Linked DNA regions of Homo sapiens: all the other regions are linked to region 3. Evidence: promoter capture Hi-C in human tissues and cell types (Jung and others, 2019). All regions are on one chromosome and are shown on one strand. The core of a region is centred on a gene start or on the middle of the fragment in contact, and the rest is flanking DNA. Distances in the headings are between cores, read along the strand shown. Region 1 overlaps LNX2 (ligand of numb-protein X 2). Region 2 overlaps GTF3A (general transcription factor IIIA). Region 3 holds the start of PDX1 (pancreatic and duodenal homeobox 1).

What was found. The method cuts DNA at HindIII sites, captures the fragments that hold promoters and counts their contacts. A contact is called where the count stands out against the background at its distance.
Region 1: a contact is called between a fragment that was not itself captured here and the fragment with the promoter of PDX1 in region 3, in 1 of the 25 tissues and cell types used here (H1 embryonic stem cells).
Region 2: a contact is called between a fragment that was not itself captured here and the fragment with the promoter of PDX1 in region 3, in 1 of the 25 tissues and cell types used here (H1 embryonic stem cells).

Annotation. Positions count from the first base shown.
Region 1 is chr13:27,614,648-27,617,831 of GRCh38, forward strand. The region is part of intron 1 of LNX2 (ligand of numb-protein X 2); the gene reads right to left. Among named protein-coding and RNA genes, the nearest start is that of LNX2, 4.3 kb to the right of the region's middle. The HindIII fragment of the contact is 4,182 bases long and covers 1-3,184 here.
Region 2 is chr13:27,434,846-27,437,927 of GRCh38, forward strand. GTF3A (general transcription factor IIIA) reads left to right here. Exons shown (of 9, transcript NM_002097.3): 7 at 1-189; 8 at 288-347; 9 at 588-978. The coding sequence ends at 752. MTIF3 (mitochondrial translational initiation factor 3) reads right to left here. Exons shown (of 5, transcript NM_152912.5): 4 at 2,271-2,428; 5 at 798-1,048. The coding sequence ends at 830. Among named protein-coding and RNA genes, the nearest start is that of GTF3A, 12 kb to the left of the region's middle. RefSeq lists an enhancer at 1-839. The HindIII fragment of the contact is 5,770 bases long and covers 1-3,082 here.
Region 3 is chr13:27,918,266-27,921,794 of GRCh38, forward strand. PDX1 (pancreatic and duodenal homeobox 1) reads left to right here and starts at 1,735. Exons shown (of 2, transcript NM_000209.4): 1 at 1,735-2,279. The coding sequence starts at 1,874. The HindIII fragment of the contact is 14,480 bases long and covers 1-3,529 here.

The DNA of each region.
Region 1 (3,184 bases), core at 478-2,977, 300 kb before region 3:
GCAGTAGGCAGGAAGAACCCATTGGGCAGCTAAAGAAGAAAAAGTCACAAAACTGAAATAAGATTTAAGTAAAGGTCTCCAATTTATGGGTTCAGTAATTATTTATTGGTCTAAATGATAAGGGTTCTCATAAACGATTAAGTCTTTAAGATTAGTAGCCGAAATCCCAACGGGGAAGGGGGTGGCAGGTATAAATATTTCCCAGACTTACCTTACTTTTATCTATAAAACAAAGTGATAGACAACAGAGCCTTGGAAACTGAGAGGAAATAAAAACACACTCAGGAGTGTTTTTTTCTATTCTCTTATTCAACACAACAGTCATCAACACAGAATACTTCTATGTCCAAATGTGGGCTCCCCCCGACACCCCAGTACACAAAGCAGTGGACACCAGCTGAGTGTCCTCTAGTTCAATTCAATTCTGACCTGGAGATAACCCCAGATCCCAAAGCTGAGGGCTCAGTCTCCAAGACCGCTCCCCTCTCCACCAGACACCAGTCGCAAGTGCAGGCCTCAGAAAATTCTAACTGACTGGCCTCAATTTGGGGTTCCCATAACCCCTCTTTGGGTTCAATTAACTTGCTAGAGCAGCTCACAGAACTCAGGGATACACTTACTTAGGTTTACCAGTTTATTATAAAAGATATTACAAAGGATATAGATGAAGAGATGCACAGGGCGAGGTACGGGGAAGGGGTGCGGAGCGTCCATGCCCTCTCTGGGGCGTGTTACCCTCCAGGAACCTCCATGTGATCAGCTGTCCAGAAGCTCTCTGAACCCTGTCCTCTTGGGCCTTTTATGAAGACTTCATAACATAGGTATGGTTGGTTAAATCATTGGCCATTGGTGATCAGCTTACCCTTCAGCTCCTCTGCCCTCCCTGGAGGGTGGTGGTGGGGCTGACAGTCCTAACCCTCTAATCCAGCCTTTCCAGTGCCCAGGGCCCATCCTGAAGCTACCTAGGGGCTGCCAGCTGTTCAGTCAACTCATCAGCATACAAAGACACTTAGCGCTTTGCAGATTCCAAGGAATTTGAGAGTTGTATGCCAGGAAACAGGGATAAAGACCATATATATATTTCACAACATCACAGAAGCTTAATCATAAGCCATCAATGTTGCAGTTCTTCTATATTCCTATAAGAACAGGGAACAGTTCAAGCTTCCTCACTGGATCAATTCTCTTTTGCTTTCCCTCTGACCAATGACTGTTTCAAAGATTTGGAGAAGTCTGTGAGCCAAGCCAGATCAAAGCCAATTTGGATCCAATTTGTTCATTAATGCATGCTGTCAACAAAAAGAGTCAAACTCTGCAACATATTTGAAGAGATTTATCGTGAGCCAAATCTGAGTGACCATGGCCCATGACACAGCCTTCAGGAGGTCCTAAGAACATGTGCCCAAGATGGTAGGGGTGCAGCTTGGTTTTATACATTTTAGGGAGGCATGAGACATCAATCAAAAAATTTTAAGAAATACATTGGTTTGGTCCAGAAAGGTGGGACAATTGCAGGGGGTCGGGGGTGGGGTGGGGGGTTGGGGGGGGTAGCAGGGAGTGCCATTCCAAGCCATAGGTAAATTTAAACATTTTCTGGTTGACAGTCGGTTGAGTTTGTCTAAAGCCCTGGGATCAACAGAAAGGAATGTCTGGGTTAAGACAAAGGATTGTGGAGACCCAAGTTCTTACTTTCAGAGGAAGCCTTCAGGTAGTAGGCTTCGATAGGTGGTAGTAAAACGTTTCTTATCGGACTTAAAGTCTATGTTAATGTTAATGTCAGAGAGGTATAACAAGTCATGTCCGACCTCCACTTCCCACTCATGGCCTGAAACTGTCTCTCAGGTTAAATTTTAAAAGACCCCTGGATGAGGAGGAAGTCCATTCAGATGGCTGGGGAGAGGGGGAAGCTTAGAATTTTATTTTTGGTTTACAATACATTAATATTTGTTTAAGTACTTAGGGATTCTGCAGTTAGCAAAATAGATAGGATCCCAGCTCTAGGAAGCACACATTCTAAAGGATAGAACCTACAACACCTGCTTCTTTAAAAGCATACTAACTAGAGGACAATTTATTATTGTAATGTCATGAGCACTTGCTTGTTAAAAAATTCCTTTTTTGAGATGGAGTCTAGCTCTATCACCCAGGCTGGAGCGCAGTGGCGCAATCTCAGCTCACTGAAACCTCTAGCTCCCGGGTTCAAGCGATTTCTCCTGCCTCAGCCTCCTGAGTAGCTGGGATTACAGGCACCTGCCACCACGCCCAGCTAATTTTCGTATTTTTAGTAGAGACAGGGTTTCACTGTGTTGGCCAGGCTGGTCTTGAACTCCTGACCTCGTGATCGCCCGCCTCAGCCTCCCAAAGTGCTAGAATTATAAGCGTGAGTCACTGCACCTGGCCAAAAAATTCCTCTTAATAACTTCTTAGAAGGCTAATACACAAAATAGCCACCTTTTCTGAATCCAACCAAACAAAATAACTTATTAACCACAGATTTTCCTACTGCTTTGTATTTTCTGAGGAAAAGAAACAGGTGCCAGGAAAGCTAAAAGGGATGTCTTTTGTAAGACTCTCAGGCCCTCCTACAGGGTCAATTTAGGTAGGCCTGCCCCAGTCTTCTAATTCTACATGCAAGATACATATGTATTACTTTTTCAAACAACACTGCTTCCTAAATAGAGGAGAACCTATGAAATGAGACCTGTGATTCTTTTTTAAAAACCTAGATGCATTTGGATAGAGGAAGGTGGGCCTGTGAACTCTAGCCCTGTAAGCAGGAAGGAAAGTTAAATAGTTCCTCATAATACAATTTAAAGATATCGGGTGGCAATTGTAAAGGAAAGAAAGAAGAGGGGAAGAAGGCCAAAGAGCCAACCAGATTACAAGAGCCTGGAGTCCTCCTTTCTTTGATGGTGGCCAAAATATATTTTAAGGATAGAAATGCCTAATATTCAATGTCAACACTTCTGATATCGCTCCACTGTGAACCCCTTCACCCTCCCCTTCCTCTAAATCTCTCATAAAGCTTACCATACTCATAAAGCCTTTCTGTGAACTCTTTTTCTTTTCTATTCTTTCCTAGCTCCTGTGAGACACAACTATCCAACAACTGCATCATGGATCTCTCAACCATCCATTTAGCACCTCCTTAGATTAGTCCAAAACTGAACTTATCTTCCCTTCT
Region 2 (3,082 bases), core at 376-2,875, 480 kb before region 3:
AAAGATTACCTTAAGCAACACATGAAAACTCATGCCCCAGAAAGGGATGTATGTCGCTGTCCAAGAGAAGGCTGTGGAAGAACCTATACAACTGTGTTTAATCTCCAAAGCCATATCCTCTCCTTCCATGAGGAAAGCCGCCCTTTTGTGTGTGAACATGCTGGCTGTGGCAAAACATTTGCAATGAAAGTAAGCACTCACCCTCATACTCATGGTCCTATAGTCTATGCTTTCACAACATGGTTTTCATATTAATATTTCATTAATAACTTTCTCTTTCATTGTAGCAAAGTCTCACTAGGCATGCTGTTGTACATGATCCTGACAAGAAGAAAATGAAGCTCAAAGTAAGTTGAAACTACTTAGGCAAGCTTAGTTTTCAAGTGGAAATTGTTTAAGGCCAGAAGGAGTCTGTTTGGAATTCTTTTCACCTGCTTTACTGTTTGAGTCTGCACTACTGTTGAAGACTTTACTTCCTCATAAAGCAATGTTGTACACTATATCTGCTGGTACATATGACTATCGTAAAATTAACTCAGACAGTTTTGATTTTGAATTCTAATCGTGTGTCTTCCTTATTCCCAAAGGTCAAAAAATCTCGTGAAAAACGGAGTTTGGCCTCTCATCTCAGTGGATATATCCCTCCCAAAAGGAAACAAGGGCAAGGCTTATCTTTGTGTCAAAACGGAGAGTCACCCAACTGTGTGGAAGACAAGATGCTCTCGACAGTTGCAGTACTTACCCTTGGCTAAGAACTGCACTGCTTTGTTTAAAGGACTGCAGACCAAGGAGCGAGCTTTCTCTCAGAGCATGCTTTTCTTTATTAAAATTACTGATGCAGAACATTTGATTCCTTATCATTTCCATGGTCTTTGTTCAAAGTGTCTCTTTCCTGGGTCTCTTGAGTTTCTTTATATGCCTTCTCCTCATTTTTGCTGAAAGCACGAAGAACACACATTAAAGCTTTTCCTCCTTGAACAGCTTGTGGCCTAGATGAGAATGTAGCTATTCCAGGCATAGTCTGGAGTATTTGATGAAATATCTCCTCCTAAAAAAGGGAAACAGCCAAAGATTAATTTAAAATCAGAGGCTTTGGTGCTTTCTAATGTTCTGCTTGAACATTCACAAAAACTGGCACCCTTGAATTGCTGCTGTCGGTTAAGTGATTAGCTAATCAGTTCATACGTATCTGGTTAAGTTGACTGAAATCTGTACAATAACACCATGTAACTAAACTGACATGCTGAATGCTTCCTAATTTTAAATCTCCACTTCGTCATGGCACGAAGAGGCTACGTTTGGCTCAGCATTACCCTCTCCCACAAACAGAAAGCACTGGGTTTGGGCATTGGCAAAATACCTCCTCATCCCCAAGGTGTCAGCCGAGCAGTTCTCAGCACTCTCTATTGCCCCTAACAGAGTCTCTCTCAGTGACTGAAACAAATGGATACCTGGGCTCAAGAAATTCTGCATCAGCTGGGTTGCGACCTATGCTTAAGTGACTCTACTGTGGAGCTGGATTACTAAGGATACCCTTAGTGGATGATAAAGTTATCTAACTTTTAAAAAAAAAAAGCAAAATAGGTATTCCATAAACTTATGGGATTGGAAACTACACACTTTCTAGAAGACAGTCTACGTAATTAATGCCCCTATAAGTACAAAGAAGAAACAAAAAATCTATAAAGTTTCTAATTTTCCTGTTTAAGGGTTATTCTACAATTTATAAAACAATAGTATATTGCTTTTAAGGAATAATGTGTTCATATGGCAAAATACGCTGTAATGGAAACTATATCTACAGTATGCTTAGTTTTGAAAAGCAAACTAGAAAGCTGTTAACATCACTGGGTGGAAGAATTACCAGTCACTTTGTCTTTATATTTCAGATTTTCTACAATTTTTTTTTTTTTTTTTTTTTTTTGAGACGGAGTCTTGCTCTGTCACCCAGGCTGGAGTGCAGTGGCGCGATCTCGGCTCACTGCAAGCTCCGCCTCCCGGGTTCACGCCATTCTCCTGCCTCAGCTTCCCCAGTAGCTGGGACTACAGGTGCCCGCCACCACGCCTGGCTAATTTTTTGTATTTTTAGTAGAGACGGGGTTTCACCATGTTAGCCAGGTTGGTCTCAATCTCCTGATCTCGTGATCCGCCCACCTTGGCCTCCCAAAATGCTGGGATTACAGGCGTGAGCCACCGCGCCTGGCCTACAATTGTATTTTTAGATCAGAAGACCCAAAGCACAAGCAGTGGCTTGTACCTTCTTTACTTACCATTTCATTTTCTGACACGTCTACATTTTTTCCTTTCTTTATGGTAATCTGGACTAGGTGTTTTTTCTTAATCCACTGCTGAATCTGTTTAGTCTTTGTGTCCAAATCATGTTGTCCAATATTTGAAGACAAAATCAGTTCCTTTCTCAGGGTTGGTCCTGGTTTGAAACAGATAGGGTGCAAGGACTACTGACTAGTCCACTGTGAACCCTGAACTTCCCAACATGCCCATCATAAAATCCTAGGTTGCCACCTGACAATCTTCTCATCTGGCTTTCAGTTTCACAGACCAGTAAATGTCTTTTCAAATGGGGAAGATACACATAAAGGTACCAATTTTTTACCTGCCCTGGAAGGGTACTTAAAATCTGAAATGCTTCCATTTATTGTTAACCATCGTTTGTTGAAAGAACACCAAAAGATAGTCGTTTAAAGGATCAAGTTTGGCTTCATGGTGCACTTAACATCCTTATCTATCAGCTGTGGGTTGGCATCTGGGAGTGCACTACCCACTCCTTTTGAGATGCTCTCCTTGCTATAAGGGGTCAGCCAGACTGTTGGACAGGTAAGGGTCCCTACATCCTGTGTTCATGCCCTCTGTCTCCAGAAATCCTGCCTACTGGAAAATTATAGAGAAGGAACCGGCCACTCAATAAAGGTGTTGGGACAATTGAGAAGTTTATAGATGACAAAAAGTTAGGTCTCCCCAGGTATACTAATGTTCTACAGGTGAAAAATACAACTTTAAAACAAACAGAAGAAAAGACAGAATGGTTTGTGATCTCAGGATAGGGGATGGAACTCATTAAGAA
Region 3 (3,529 bases), core at 485-2,984:
GGGCGCACAGAGATTAGGTGCCCGGGCCCCACGGCCTTTCACTCTCTGCCCCCACCAAAACTGCAGGTGGCACTTTTCCCTGAAGAAATCACCGAAACTCTCCCCGCCCGCCGCCGTGCTTCCCTTGGCCTGTCTTCGGTGACAGCAAGGGCATCTACAAGCCAGGGAGCCACACATCAGAGCCACACACATGAGGCCACAGGCCAGGAAGCCACACACATGAGTTCTCACACATCGAAGCAAATGCTGAGACTATACCGGCCTCCCGCAAGAGAAGGAATCTGCAGAGAAGTCCACATTCCCGACTGGCTTTTTTGTCTTTTAATAAAAATAAAGAGTCCTCAGAATAGAGCACTCAATCCGCACTTAAAACACAAATATTTCCAGTAGGAAGAAAGAAATACATTAAGATTGACTCTCAAAGGTCTGGATGTTGGTGCGTTGTTTAGGAAAGGCGGAGCAGTGATTTTTCTCTGGCTTGGTTCTTTGTGGTTCAAGCTCTCTCTTGCTGAGACGTTTCTGCAAAGCTGTCTAGTTTTTCTAAAACCCACGGTGGCGTTTCGAGAAACGTCCTCATTTCGGGAGTATCCAGTCAGAGGCTGGTCAGGCCGCCAGGCCTAGCGGATCATGCCCAGGCAGGGGGTTGGACGTCACCGCCACCCGGAGGTCATCCATCCGCGTCAGTGGGTGCAGAAAAAGTGGCCCTGTTTAAGTCAGGACCCCAGAATGCCCAGAAGTTACTGAATGGTTTGAAGCCAAGCACAGATGTTATCATGGAAAATGCAGCGTTTTTATTTCTTTTTCTAAATATGTAACTCTTCCTCCACTTCCCCCTCTCCTGCTTGCCTTATTTCAATTGCAAGCAGAAGAGAGTGAGTGTTCTCTGCCGGCAAACTCCGCCAGGGTCCCGGCCCGTAGAGAGTCGTCAAGGGTCTGGAACCCCCGTGCCAACACCTGCCCCTGCTTCGCAGCCCCAAGAGGAAGGCCGCGTCTTTCCCCCTCGCTGTATTGGGAAGCTACGTTCCGGGCTGGCCAAATGGGCCCCAATTTTCCAAAACCCAAATTTGTAATACCCTTCAATTTTTTAAAAAAAAGAATTTAAAAAAGTCTCTGTGAATGCTTCAGAAGTTACCGTTTACACCCCAGAAGTACTTGCAGCACATCCACAAGTAAAAACACACAACGAATGCCAGAGTTTCGTGTGTTTTTTAACCGACATCTTTGTGGCTGTGAACAAACTTCATAAATAAAATAGAATCAAATGCTTCTGACCTAGAGAGCTGGGTCTGCAAACTTTTTTTTTATCGTATTCCGCAACAGTTAAATAAAAAATTAAAAACTCAACATGTCTCCTTGTAAACTACATCAATTAACAAACACACTATGTCCATTATCAAATATAATAGAAAAAATATAGGAAAATAGAAAATAGAAAAATATAGGAAAATAGAAACTTTTAAGCCACGGTGAAAATGTTTCTATAAATGAGTGGTTCTAATGTTTTCGTGAGCGCCCATTTTGGGGAGCACCGCCAGCTGCCCGTTCAGGAGTGTGCAGCAAACTCAGCTGAGAGAGAAAATTGGAACAAAAGCAGGTGCTCGCGGGTACCTGGGCCTAGCCTCTTAGTGCGGCCAGCCAGGCCAATCACGGCCCCCGGCTGAACCACGTGGGGCCCCGCGGAGCCTATGGTGCGGCGGCCGGCCCGCCGGTCCGCGCTGGCTGTGGGTTCCCTCTGAGATCAGTGCGGAGCTGTCAAAGCGAGCAGGGGTGGCGCCGGGAGTGGGAACGCCACACAGTGCCAAATCCCCGGCTCCAGCTCCCGACTCCCGGCTCCCGGCTCCCGGCTCCCGGTGCCCAATCCCGGGCCGCAGCCATGAACGGCGAGGAGCAGTACTACGCGGCCACGCAGCTTTACAAGGACCCATGCGCGTTCCAGCGAGGCCCGGCGCCGGAGTTCAGCGCCAGCCCCCCTGCGTGCCTGTACATGGGCCGCCAGCCCCCGCCGCCGCCGCCGCACCCGTTCCCTGGCGCCCTGGGCGCGCTGGAGCAGGGCAGCCCCCCGGACATCTCCCCGTACGAGGTGCCCCCCCTCGCCGACGACCCCGCGGTGGCGCACCTTCACCACCACCTCCCGGCTCAGCTCGCGCTCCCCCACCCGCCCGCCGGGCCCTTCCCGGAGGGAGCCGAGCCGGGCGTCCTGGAGGAGCCCAACCGCGTCCAGCTGCCTTTCCCATGGATGAAGTCTACCAAAGCTCACGCGTGGAAAGGCCAGTGGGCAGGTAAGCCTGGCTCCCCACCCCTTTCTCCTTTCCGGTTCTCACCCGGCCGCCTTACCTCCAAGCGCTCCCAGGAGCCTTCTCTCTGTTCCCGGCGCCTTGGATTATCCCGGGTCGGACTAAACTACATCAGGGAGCTACCGAGCCCATCCCTCACAGCAGTGCTTCTCTAGTCCAGTTTGAAGCATCTTTCCCACCCAGCTCTCCTGGGAGTGTACACTCCTTCCTTCCCTGTTCGCTGAGCCCATCTTCGCCCCAGGAGCCCGCGCTCCCAGCGCCATCCTTAGAGAGCCGAGGCTGAGTCCTGCTCAGGGCTTCGGACACTACAGATCCTCCTCCAGCAGGGGATCCGGGAACCCAGGACTCCTTGGTAGTGCACATCGAGGAAGCCGAGTAGGGACATGGGTGCCTCGGACCCAGGCCCCAGATCGCCTTCGGAGCCCCGGAGCCCCTCACTTCCCGCGCTTCGTTAAGGAAGGGCAGGCATCTAGGGGCGCCAGGTAGGTGCAGAAAGGCAGGGAGGGAAAGGAAACTGCACCCAACCCAGCAGTGTCCGGCTGCCCTGGTTGTGGAAACAGGATAGGAGTAAAGAGGAAGGGGCTGGGGCAAGGCGGGGGCTCACCGCGAGGCTGAAAGCCGGCCTCTCAACGTCAGAGCCTGGCAGCTAGGAGAGCAATCTGAGAAGCGAATTCGTTTTTCACCAACCGAAAGCAATTGAAGCTGTCTCCCCGCACCGCTTCCCAGGAAGTAATTTTTCAGGAGATGGGCGCTCCCTGCCTAGCTGGTGGGGAGGCGAGAGGCCTGGTTCCTGCGGCCCTCCGCGCCGGCAGAGAACAGAAGGTCTTTCCCGGAGCCGGGAGCCGGAGGCACGGGGTAGCCCCCGGGTCCTTTGCGGCCCCGCGCGAGCGGCAAGTTCCGGCGCGGCCTGTGTCGTCGCCGCTACTCACTGTCATCGCTGCCGTGCCTCAGCCACTTCTGGTCACACCTGCACCGCAAATAGTTGCCTTTTCCTTTCAACTGGCAGCCGGGAGTAGGGGGAAGCAGCTCGAGCCGGCGTCCCCCGGCCCACCCCGAAAATCCTCAGCGCCCATCTGCGGGGTCTGGCCAGCCCTGCCTGACACTGACCCCAGGCGCAGCCAGGAGGGGCTTTGTGCGGGAGAGGGAGGGGGACCCCAGCTTGCCTGGGGTCCACGGGACTCTCTTCTTCCTAGTTCACTTTCTTGCTAAGGCGAAGGTCCTGAGGCAGGACGAGG